Regions from separate parts of the Homo sapiens genome. Here all the other regions are linked to region 3. Evidence: promoter capture Hi-C in 16 types of primary human blood cells and fetal thymus (Javierre and others, 2016). All regions are on one chromosome and are shown on one strand. The core of a region is centred on a gene start or on the middle of the fragment in contact, and the rest is flanking DNA. Distances in the headings are between cores, read along the strand shown.

What was found. Contacts are between HindIII fragments. The CHiCAGO score rates a contact against its expected background, and 5 or more counts as called.
Region 1: a contact is called between the fragment with the promoter of HYLS1 here and the fragment with the promoter of CCDC15 in region 3, in 8 of 17 cell types (activated CD4 T cells, total B cells, naive CD8 T cells and 5 more). The highest score is 12.9, in activated CD4 T cells.
Region 2: a contact is called between a fragment that was not itself captured here and the fragment with the promoter of CCDC15 in region 3, in 1 of 17 cell types (naive CD8 T cells). The highest score is 5.4, in naive CD8 T cells.

The regions. Positions count from the first base shown.
Region 1 is chr11:125,886,374-125,890,467 of GRCh38, forward strand. HYLS1 (HYLS1 centriolar and ciliogenesis associated) reads left to right here and starts at 1,295. Exons shown (of 3, transcript NM_001134793.2): 1 at 1,295-1,392. RefSeq lists an enhancer at 1,003-1,052 and silencers at 1,193-1,242, 1,333-1,382, 1,483-1,872. The HindIII fragment of the contact is 13,277 bases long and covers 1-4,094 here.
Region 2 is chr11:125,905,395-125,909,471 of GRCh38, forward strand. It overlaps DDX25 (DEAD-box helicase 25), which reads left to right. Exons shown (of 12, transcript NM_013264.5): 3 at 159-203; 4 at 680-815; 5 at 2,802-2,894; 6 at 3,007-3,109. Among named protein-coding and RNA genes, the nearest start is that of DDX25, 2.9 kb to the left of the region's middle. The HindIII fragment of the contact is 3,187 bases long and covers 644-3,830 here.
Region 3 is chr11:124,951,875-124,955,512 of GRCh38, forward strand. CCDC15 (coiled-coil domain containing 15) reads left to right here and starts at 2,328. Exons shown (of 16, transcript NM_025004.3): 1 at 2,328-2,496; 2 at 2,850-3,035. The coding sequence starts at 2,859. CCDC15-DT (CCDC15 divergent transcript) reads right to left here and starts at 2,117. Exons shown (of 3, transcript XR_948134.3): 1 at 1,608-2,117. RefSeq lists an enhancer at 1,988-2,531. The HindIII fragment of the contact is 8,789 bases long and covers 1-2,826 here.

The sequences.
Region 1 (4,094 bases), core at 45-2,544, 930 kb after region 3:
CCCACTGAATCCTGGATTTAAGAAATGGTGTAAGATGAACTTGACAACTAGCACCTATTTGTTTAAGGTGGAAAATGCAATGCTCAGGACTCAAGACCAGTTGAGATAGGTTTGCTTGGTATTGACTAGGATATTGAACCCTGAGGGCCTCTCCTCTTGCTTTTACAGATCTCATCCTCAGCAATCCCCAAGCACTAGATTTTTTTTTTTTTTTTTTTTTTTTTTTTTACAGGTACAGATGCAAAAAGAGTTAAAACATCGGGTTTAAAAAAAAAATTAGTGGCTGGGCACAGAGGCTCACAACTGTAATCCCAGAGCTTTGGGAGGCCGAGGGGGTAGAATCACCTGACTAACATGGTGAAACCCCATCTCTACTAAAAATACAAAATTAGCCGGGCATGGTGGTGCTCGCCCGTAATCCCAGCTGCTCGGGAGGCTGAGGCAGGAGAATCGCTTGAACCTGGGAGGCAGAGGTTACAGAGAGCTGAGATCGCGCCACTACTCTCCAGCCTGGGCAACTGGGCAACAAGAGGGAAACTCCGTCTCAAAAAAAAAAAAAAAAAAAAGTTGAGAGTAACACCATGTGAAGGAGACAGGCACATTCCAAAAGAAAACAAGTGCATGTCGGAGCAAGGCAGTCGGTGGCTGGAGCACAGTTAGAGTAACGTGGGAGGAGCTGTGGAGACGCAGCCACGGGTCACGCCAGGGCCCTGCACACCATGCAGAGGAAAGGAAGAGCTCAGTGCGCCAGGGTTTCATACAGCCGCTCTCTCAGGCCCCAAGGAAACGTCTAGAGCGCACAGGCGGACTCACCCCAGACTGTTCGAACCGTCCCTGAGCGCCCGCCCTCGTCTCCCGGCACCACTGGCCCCGCAGCAGCCAGTTGAGAAGGGCGGAGGCTGATTCCAATGAAGTGGCAGACCGTTAGGCGGCCTCTCCAAAAAGCCAGCTATGTCGCCGTTAGCCAAGGTTTGAGGGTCTTCTCCTTCTCTTCGAGGGCCCAACCTCCCCTCCAGATTTAGTACACCAGAGGCGTCGCAGCAACGGCTGCTGCCTGCGCGCCTCAGCTAGGCGGGCTCGGATATTTTTAAGGCCACATTGGAAATCCCGGGCATGCTCCCGCCGGCGGAGAAGGCCCAGACAAAATGTGCGCCAATCAGGATACAGACTTGGAGGACGTTTACCCTCAGGACCAATAAGAGGGAGGGCGGACCGGGCCAAGGGTGCCGGTTCGCTCTCCGGATTTAAACCTCAGCGGTCGGCGGTTAACCGCAGGCTCGGCGCGTGGGCCGGCAGTGCGCCTGCGCAAGTTACGCGAAAGCTAACAGAATCTGCGGTGCTCTGCTGGCGACTGGCAGGACGCGGTGCAGAGAGCGGACTTCCGCGACGCGGGTAAGCCGGGCGAAGGCCGGAAGCGGAGGGACGCGGGGACCTGGTGGCTGCCGGCCCACTGCGGCGGGAGCCCTCGCTCCTTTTCCCACCGTCGGGACGGTGCAGAGTGGCAGCTTCCCTCCGTGGATTCCAGGTCCTGCCTGGCGAGCCGTCCCCAACGTCTGCGTTCCTGAGGGAGGCGGCCGGGGCAGCGTGAGCTACAGGCGATGTGCGCGGCGGGCCGCAGCCCCTGGAGGTCACGGTGTGCGCTGGCCGCCGCCGCGGTCTTTGCCCCGGTGGCCTTTCTGAGCTCCTGGGCCGCGCCCCTGGGACCAGGCGGAGGCCGGGGACGGCCCCAGGGCTGGAGGGGAGTCCCGAAGGCCGCTAGCGACCTGGGTCCAAGCCACGCCCACGGCCAGGCGGGGCGACTGCGAGCTTTGCCGTTGAAAGGCGGAGCGTGTCTTGTCGCCTTCTAGCTGCACCTTTTGTGGACTGCAGCATGGAACCGTCCAAGGTGTTTGTCCACCCCGAAATGGAAATAAATCTTTTTTATTCTAAACAGTATACAATCTCACTAAGCAGGCAAAGAAAAACATTAAGATATCTTTTTAGATTGGTAAGATTTTTCAGTACCCCATGCTGCTGAGAGAGTGAAGAAATGAAAGCAAGCACCTTTATGGCCTGTGTGCTGGGGATAATCTGTTTTTCTAGAGGGCAGTTTGGCATTATAAATCAGAATTCAGGCCGGGCGCGGTGGCTCACGCCTGTTACCCCAGCACTTTGGGAGGCCGAGGTGGGCGGATCACGTGAGGTCAGGAGTTCGAGACCAGCCCGACCAATACGGTGAAACCCCGTCTCTACTAAAAATACAAAAATTGGCCGGGCTTGGTGGCGGGCGCCTGTAGTCCCAGCTCCTCGGGAGGCCGAGACAGGAGAATCTCTTGAACCCGGGAGGGAGAGGTTGCAGTGAGCCGAGATCGCGCCACTGCACTCCAGCCTGGGCGACCGAGCAAGACTCTTGTCTCAAAAAAAAAAAAAAAAAAGAGAAAAGAAAAACATAAATCAGAATTCAAGTAGTACCATAACTTCTAAGTCATAATCCAATTCCAGGAGTTTATTCCAAGGACATAAATCGGACAAGAATGCAAACATAGTATGTACATGTTTTTAGCAATCCGAGCAACATTTAGTACGTGTAAAGAAGAAAGAAAATACTCGAAATTTCATCAGTCACAGATAACCATCAAACACTGTTCACATTTAGGTTTACTTCAGATATATTCATAATATATACCTTATATTTATGTGATTTCCTTATAAAATGTGTTTTAAATAATTGCATGTTACAAATATAATAAAGTATGTTAATTTAAAAGAACGTCAGTTAAGCAGATTATACATTATTGAGTCAGTAATAAATTGGGAACACATTTCTCTGTCAGTGTCGATACGCATTACCATTTTTAATGGATGCGTGGCGTTTGTTGCTATGGCTGTATTGTATCATATATTATTTAACCAGTCCCCTACTAATGTACATTTGTTTCCAGTCTCTTCATAATCATAAAATGGTATGGTAGTGGTCACTTGTATGTATACATGTTTGCATTCTTGTCCAATTTATGTCCTTGGAATAAATTCCTGGAAGTGGATTATGACTTAGAAGTTGTGGTACAGTTTAAATTCTGATTCAAAATGCCAAACTGGGCCGGGCGCGGTGGCTCACACCTGTAATCCCAAGCACTTTGGGAGGCGGAGGCGGGCGGATCACTTGAGATTGGGAGTTTGAAACCAGCCTGGCCAACATGGTGAAACCAAGTCTCTACTAAAAATAGAAGAAAAATTAGCCGGGCGTGGTGGCAGGTGCCTGTGATCCCAGCTACTCGGGAGGCTGAGGCAGGAGAATCGCTTGAACCTGAGAGGCAGAGGTTGCGGTGAGCCGAGATCAGGCCACCGCAACTCCAGCCTGGGCGACAGAGAGAGACTCGTCTCAAAAAACAACAACAATAATAATAATGCCAAACTGCCCTCTGGAAAAACGGATTATCCCCAACACACAGGGCATAATAAGGATGCTTGTTTTTATTTCTTCACACACTTGCCAGCACCGGGTACTGAAAAAATCTTATCAATCTGAAATGATGTCTTAATGCTTTTATACACATTACTGAAATTGAACATGTTTTCTGTTTATTAATTTTTGTTGCTGTTTAGAAACAGACGTTGGCTTTGTGCCCAGGCTGGAGTGCAGTGGCCAGATCATAGCTCAGTGCAGCCTCAAACTCCAGGGTTCAAGCGGTCCTCTTGCTTCAGCCCCCATAGTACTGAGACTACAGGTTTATGCCACCACGCCTAGCTAATCTTTTTTCTTTTTTTTTGAGAGATGGGGGTCTTGCTGTGTTGCACAGGCTGGTCTTGAACTCCTTCACAGCCTCAAGCGATCCTCCCACCTCAGCCTCCAAAGTGCTGGAATTACAGGCATGAGCCACTGCGCCCAGCTGTTTGTTAGTTATTATTCGTTTGGTACGGCATCTGTCTTTTCTCCCCTATCTTACTGATAATGTGTACCCTTTAATAGCTTTCTAAGAGGAATTCAAATTACTGATTTTTAAACGTGTTACAAGTATTTCTCCCAGTTTGTTGTCTCTTTTGCCTTCATTATGGTATTGTTTGCCTTTGTGGTAGGATGTTTTGTTTTGTTTTAATACTGTGATTCTTTAAGC
Region 2 (4,077 bases), core at 987-3,486, 950 kb after region 3:
CTCCATTACCTTCCCAATCGTTTCGTCCATTCCTCCATGAAATGACTCTTCTTGCCAGTAGACACTGAAGAGTCAGGAAGAAAAAATTGAATAGCATGCTTTACATTTGTGCTCAGCATTTGTCTTTACTTGTATTGTTTCTCTTCCATCCTTTCCAGATGGTTCTATTAATAACATCAATGAAGATGATGAAGAAGATGTAGGTAGGAGATGAATTCATTTGCATGTATCTACTAGCATTCTGTTTCCGTTTATAACTTTAATAGTGTGAGTGAATAATATAATCTCAATTGGAAAAGGCCTGTCTTTGCTTCTGTTTTCTTATAGTGACTATCAGGAGACACACTAAATTAGGAGTAAGGTGTATTTATTTAAAGGAAGTTGAAATGGAATATGCAGGGATTGGGTTCAGAACTTCCATCTGTCAAGGATTTGGTCTCATGGAGATGGACTTAGGCTACTTTGAAGTTAGAGGATGGTGAAGTAACAGAGCGTAAGAAACTGAATCCTCATAAAGAACGAATCCTCAGTGCTATATCATTCTTTCTGGAACCCTCTTTTAGAGGAAAAATGAGCGTAGGTGCAATTGCTTGGTATACAACCACTGAAAGAGAAAGAGCAACTTATTTGATGTCATTCAGGAAGCTTGATGTCCTCTTTTTTATTTTTGCTTTTCTAGTGGATTTGGCAGCTAATTCACTCTTAAACAAGTTAATCCATCAATCCTTAGTAGAATCCAGTCACCGTGTGGAAGTTTTACAGAAGGATCCCAGCTCTCCACTTTACTCAGTAAAGACATTTGAAGAGCTGCGGCTGTGAGTATTTTTACTCTTTTAATATGGGAAAAATGCTGAAAACCACAGAACAAACGCATCTGCTTATAGTAAAAACCATCAGGATCTCCTCTTTGTTTTCTGATATTCAATATTTTTTTTTGTTATTTGAGACAGAGTCTCACTCTGTCCCCCAGGCTGGAGTGCAGTGATACGATCTCGGCTCACTGCTCTACCTTACAGGTTCAAGCGATTCTCCTGCCTCAGCCTCCCGAGTAGCTGGGACTACAGGCATGCACCACCACGCCCAGTTAATTTTTAATATTCAGTATTAAAGTGAGATTTGTACATTTTCCATGCAATCAAAATATAGCTCAGGCCAGGCACAGTGGCTCATTCCTATAATCCCAACACTTGGGAGCTGAGGAGGGCAGATCGCCCGAGGGTCAGGAGCTTGAGACCAGCCTGGCCGACATGGGAAAACCCCCTCTCCACTAAAAATACAAAAAGTAGCCGGGCATGGTGGCGCGCACCTGTAATCCCAGCTATTCGGGAGGCTGAGGTAGGAGAATCGCCTGAACCCAGGAGGCAGAGGTTGCAGTGAGCCGAGACACCATTGCACTCCAAGCCTGGGTGACAGAGTGAGACTCCGTCTCAAAAAAAAAAAAAAAAAGGATATTCTAAAGAAGAACATTAGGATACTCAAGTTGCCTGGCAAATTGAGAACATTTTTGATAGTAAGATATTTTCATCCTGCAGTGCTCAGGGGGATAGATAGCTAAGCTAGGCACAGCCAGATTGCCCCTCTCCATATCAGAACCCAGATTCTGATGACCCAGACATCCTCCTTCACCCACTATAGATAAGTCACAAACTTTTACTTTCCTGATTATATTTTGTTTCAAATGATATTAAACTGAATAACTTTCCCAAATGGGTTTGCATTCCCTAGGGATTTATCATTTGACGCTAAAAAATGTATTTTTACAGAACGAGAAAAGCACTGAAACCTACTTATGTAAAGGGTAAAAATCCAAAATCCTAGTTCCCAGACATTTTCTAAATGGTAGAAGAAGCCTACCCATGATTTAAGATGGGCTACCAGTCCTCTACCAATTAAGCACACACAAATGTGCATGTCATTAAAAGTTGAAGTGTTGGCCGGGCGCGGTGGCTCACGCCTGTAATCCCAGCACTTTGGGAGGCCAAGGGGGGCGGATCACGAGGTCAGGAGATCGAGACCATCCTGGCTAACACAGTGAAACCCCGTCTCTACTAAAAATACAAAAAATTAGCCAGGTGTGGTGGCGGGCGCCTGTAGTCCTAGCTACTCGGGAGGCTGAGGCAGGAGAATGGCGTGAACCCGGGAGGTGGAGCTTGCAGTGAGCTGAGGTCGCGCCACTGCACTCCAGCCTGGGCGACAGAGCAAGACTCCGTCTCAAAAAAAAAAAAGTTGAAGTGTTGTAGTCCACTTGATTTATCCTCATTCTGGCATTTTTCTTAAGACCCTCAGGAAAGCTGCATTTTAAAATATTGCCTCAGAAGGATGGAGTAATATTGTGTCTTCTACTCCTAGAAAGAACTAATATAAGAATCACCTAAATAAAAATTTGTCTTCTCTGAAAATTACTGTTAAAAATGTCAATATCGTTCGTGAAAAGGAACAAAACAGTAAATGTCACTTAGTTTTCTGCTTAGGCAGAAAATATAACTCTCTTGGCAAGCAGATATATTCTTTTTATGCGATGAGTTTTTCCATTTTTGCTTTGTTCAACAGAAGGTTTGACTTAAGGCCTTTACCACTGTCCTTCGCCTAGGCTTATGGCGTAGCTTATTATTTTAGTGGTCCAGCTCTACAGGCATGATTGTTTATGTTTGGAAGTTGAGGTATGAATGATCTATCTCCAAATACTAGTTTTAAAGCTCAGCTGCAAAGTGACTTAATTTAGAAATGCACCTTTCAGGTATGTATTTCTGATGCTACTGACCAACTATAATCTGTAAGTGTTTGATTTTTTTTTTTGACAGAAAGGAAGAGTTACTAAAAGGAATCTATGCAATGGGATTTAATAGGCCATCTAAAATCCAAGAGATGGCTCTCCCTATGATGCTGGCACATCCGTGAGTTTCCAGGGTAGTGGTATTCTACTTGGTTATGTTTAGTTTCTTATTTTCAGTTTATGCCCACTCTCTTGTATTCAGTTTATGCCCAGTGGTCTTCTCTTTTCTACAGACCCCAGAACCTCATAGCACAGAGCCAGTCTGGAACAGGAAAGACAGCGGCATTTGTGTTGGCAATGTTAAGCAGAGTTAATGCCTTGGAATTGTTCCCACAGGTAAGGGAAGGCTGAGAGAAGACTGGGAATGCTTGCACTACCAGTGCTAATTTAGTAATAGGTGATATTCCTGTGCAATGATATGGTTACTATGGTGATGAAATATTTAGAAAAGACATGTTTTCATAAAATCATAGAGCATTGGGTAGCAGCATGGGACAGTGATGGAGAGGACAGGCTTTATAGTCTTGAGTGGTTTCAATGCTAGCCTCCCACTTACTAACTGAATGTCTTAGGCAAGTTAATAAATCTGAGTCTGTTAATCCTTGTCTGTAAAGATAGCATCTGTAAAGGAATGTATCATAGTTGATCTGTTCACCCTTAAATCCTAATACCTAGCACAGTGCCTGGCTTGTAGAAACCACTCATTAAACATTGAATAAAGTCATCATGTGGATTTAATGAAGTAATTTACGTTTTTAGCACAGTGCCTGGCATAAATTAAGCATGCAATAATTATAGCCATCTAACTGCAGGACCAGAAGGTCAGGTAGTCCACCTCACTCTAGCAGAGGAGGAGGCTGATGCTTGGAGAGGGAAGTGTCTTTCTTGAGGTCCCCAGAGAGTGGCTGAGTCAAGACTGGCACTGGTACCCGGTTTACCATTCTCCTAGTGTAGTTTCCACTCATGAAAAGTATCTGGTCGTCTCTCCCTATTTGCTTGACAAGCTGAGTACCCATATGCATTAAGTGCTGTGGGGAATACCAAGGCTCTCTCAGTAAGCTTCCACTCTGATCAGCCAGGTCAGCTATAGGTAAGGCATAGGAAATCTTACGCATTTTAGACAAGTTCAGTGAAATTTATGTTTAGGGTTTGATATTATCAATAAAAATTATGTAGGATAAGTTATGTTGGAGCACATTTTGAAAAATGTGTGGGAAAGATATTTTTAGCCCTTTGGCTATGTTTCCCTATCACAGATTCCTAATTGACACATATAAGTGCATTAGATATTACCGTTTTTTTCC
Region 3 (3,638 bases), core at 1,078-3,577:
TATTATTATAATTAACCATACCTCCTGCTATCTAAGGCCAATCCCTCCACTTGTTCACTAAATTCCATTTCCTCTATGAGGTTTGCACAAAGACAAAATCACCTAACATTTATCAAAATGTATCCCCATCTTTAAGTGACACATGACTGTAGATCCCTAAATTCTCCCATATCTCTCCCGCATCATTAGTTTTCTCCTGTCTATTGGTTAATTTCCATCAATAACAAATATATGCTATGATCTTAAAGAACTCTCCAATGATCCTACCTCTACGTTCAGCCACCTCTTTCGCTGTGTCCCTTCACAACAAAATTCATGGAAAGAATTGTCTAAAATTGCTGTCTCCAATTCCTTCTCCTACTCTTTCTTGCCTAGCCCATCAGGCTTTTGCTCTCCAACTACTCTAAAGACACTGCTCTTTTAAAAGTTATCAATCACTTCCACATGGTCAAATCCAATAGTCAATTTTCAGTCCTTACCTTATTTGATCTGTCAGTAGGATTTAACACAGATTGTCTGCCCTCAATGGAACATTTCTTTTTCACCTGGCTTTCAAGGTATCACACCCTCATAGTTTTCTTCCTTGGTTTACTGATTAATCCTTCTCAATCTCTTAGCATTCTCCTCCTCTTTTTCTCAGCCTCTGTAATACTGACATACCCTGGGGCTGTTTTAGGATTTATTCTTTTATCTGTCTATATTCAACCCCTTGATGACTCCATCCAGTCTCATGGCTTTAAATCTACAGGCTAACGACTCTTAGATTTATATTTGTAGCCCAGAACCCTTCTCTGAGCTCCAGACACTTTTTCTCATACTATCTTCTCGGATGTTGATTAGATAAAACTTTATCTGCCCCAAACTGAACTCCTGATCTTCCCCTTTCCAAATCTACTCCTTCCACCATCTTCACTATCTCAGTAAATAGTAATTTCATCCTGACAGCTGCTCAGGATGAAACCCCTAGTTTTCCTTGACATCTCTCCCTCACACAATCCATATCCAAACCTTCAACAGATCCTGAAAGTTTTGCCTCCCAAATAGATACAGAATCCAACCACTTATCATCATCTCCACCACTACCTCCTTGATCCAAGACATCACAATCCCTTAACTGAATTATTGCAATAGCCACCTAATTGGTCTTCTTTACAGTCTATTCTCACTACAGCATTCGGAATTATTATTTTTTTAATTTTGTCACATTATGGTGTTCCTTTGCTCCAAACCTTGCTCCAGTGGCTCCCCATCTCAACACCTATGGTGGCTTACGATGTTTGATCGGATTGCCTGCTTGACCTACTGTCTCAGCATTCTTCCACTCTCCCTCTGCTCCAGTCACACTATCCTCCTGACTTTTTCTCAACCAGGCAATGCTTCCACCTTGGGGCGTTTATACTTGCTGTTATATCTGGAACATGTTTATAAAGCCTCCGTTGAAGAGCACAGTGGCTTCTTCCATTAACTCATTTAAGTCTTTGCTGAAAAGTATCTCAGTGCAGCTTCTCTGGACGTTCTAATATTTCATCCCTCCAATCCCCACCCTGCCCACCACACTCCCTATCCGCTTTCTTTGCTTTTACTCCACATCACACACATTTACTTACTCATTGTTTATTCGCTTATTTCCCCTCACTCTATTGTGAATTCCCTGAGCAGGGATATTTGTTTCGTTCATAGCTATGTATCTCCGGTGCTTGGAACAGTACTGGTTTATAAAAAGTTAGTAGTAATGTATGTTAATCGAATGAATAAATTATCCTACAGAGATAATTGAGTGTCTCTGGATTACAGCAGAGCTTGCAGCAGAGAGGGAGACCACTCAACAGGCCGTGATGTCCAAATATAATAAGATGTATGAAACAGTACTGTAAAATTAGCTGCACAAAGGATCCGAAAAATTTGTTAGCTTAGTTTGTTTCTCCAGGAAGCCGTGCCAGGCTCGCCTCCCTCTTTCATTCTTTTCCCGTGATTCCCTCTACTGGGACTCCTGACCCTCCTAGTCGCCAGATCACAGGCCCAACGCATCCCTTTCCGGAGGGATTTAGGAAGTCTCGGCGTTGGTCCAGGAACGACAGTCCCACCGCGCCTCACATGGCGCATTACCCAGCGACTCCGCTTACCCACACGTCCCCGCCCCCTCAGCCGGACAGGAAGAGGAAATGACGATACCTCGGGCGCTCGAAACTCCACCTCTCACGCCTTCCCAGCTCCGGGAGGGGACGCGGGCTCCGGAAAGGGCGGGCATAAGGCTACGGATGGGCGGGACGGAGCAGCCCACCGCAAAGTGGCGGTCTACTTGAGGCGGTTACCTTAGTACTCCGAGTAGACTGAGTCTGTGGCGAGCTGCGGGCCGATTCCTGGCCAGTGCCATCTCAGCCGGAGCAGGCCTCGGGGCCTCAGAAGCAGGCTTTTATCTGGCCCGAGGCTCCCAGCCGTTCAGCGCGTCTTCCCATAACCTATACCGATTATTGGGACTCTCGGCTGCAGACACAGGTCCCCGCCCCTCCCTCTTTCTCCGGGTTGCAGCTGTCATTCCTCCCTTCCCGCCTCGCTGCGCCCACAGCTGAGGACAGTCTTCGTTCTCTCATTCCCATCCTTTCTCTTCCCTCTCATCGCCATTTCTTCTAGAAGGCAACTTAAAAACCTTTCTTTGCCTCTTTATTTCTTCCCATTTCTCTTCCCTTCTTTTCTTCCTTTTTCTCTAGAATCCGTGTGTTTCCACTTCATGCCAGGCTTCTGCCTCCAGGGCTTCTCTCCTTTTCACGGGCCTGTGGCTCATGTGTTAGGAGGTTGAACTTTTAATGCAGTCATTTGAAGATTTTAAGCTTTTTCTTTCTCCTAATCAGGAGTCACAGATGCTGGGAAGTATGGCCCGAAAGAAACCTCGAAATACCTCAAGGTTGCCCCTGGCTTTAAACCCCCTGAAGAGCAAGGACGTGTTGGCAGTGCTGGCTGAGAGGAACGAGGCTATAGTACCAGTTGGGGCATGGGTGGAACCTGCCTCACCAGGTAGTTCGGAAATCCCAGCATATGTGAGTGTCAGTTTGATCCAAATATGGTGGGGTTCCCCACCACCCTTTTTATTAGCCTTCTCTAATCCTGGGTGCTTAAAGATGAACAGTCCGAGGATGCTGTTTCTATTCTGCCATAAATAGTTTATGCTCTTGCATTAGGATTATAGAACAAGTATTTGCCAAAACTTGACTGCAGCTTTAGTTGGCATAATCAAATATTTATTACTCACCTACTATAATATATAGAGCATAATCTACATGGAACAGGTTATATAGATATATATCTGTATATCAGTTTACTTCAGACTCTTGATTGCTTGTTATGCCCAAGACATAAGCACTATCTACATCTTCCAGACACTGCAACTTAGTATGGATGATAGTTGGCATACTTCAAGTAACATTAATTGGTTGCTTAAGGTTTATGATAAATTTTGTAATGAGGATTCAGGCAAAATGGAGTAATAGAATAAAGGAGAAAGAGATGAACTCTGATAATCTGAGAAAGTCTAACTAGAAATTCCATGGTTTCTGATAGTCTTTCACCAAACTGTGCCCCTTAGCTATTTGTTCAAATTTAACTTGGCACTTACCACATTGTGTTATAGTAGATTGTTTATA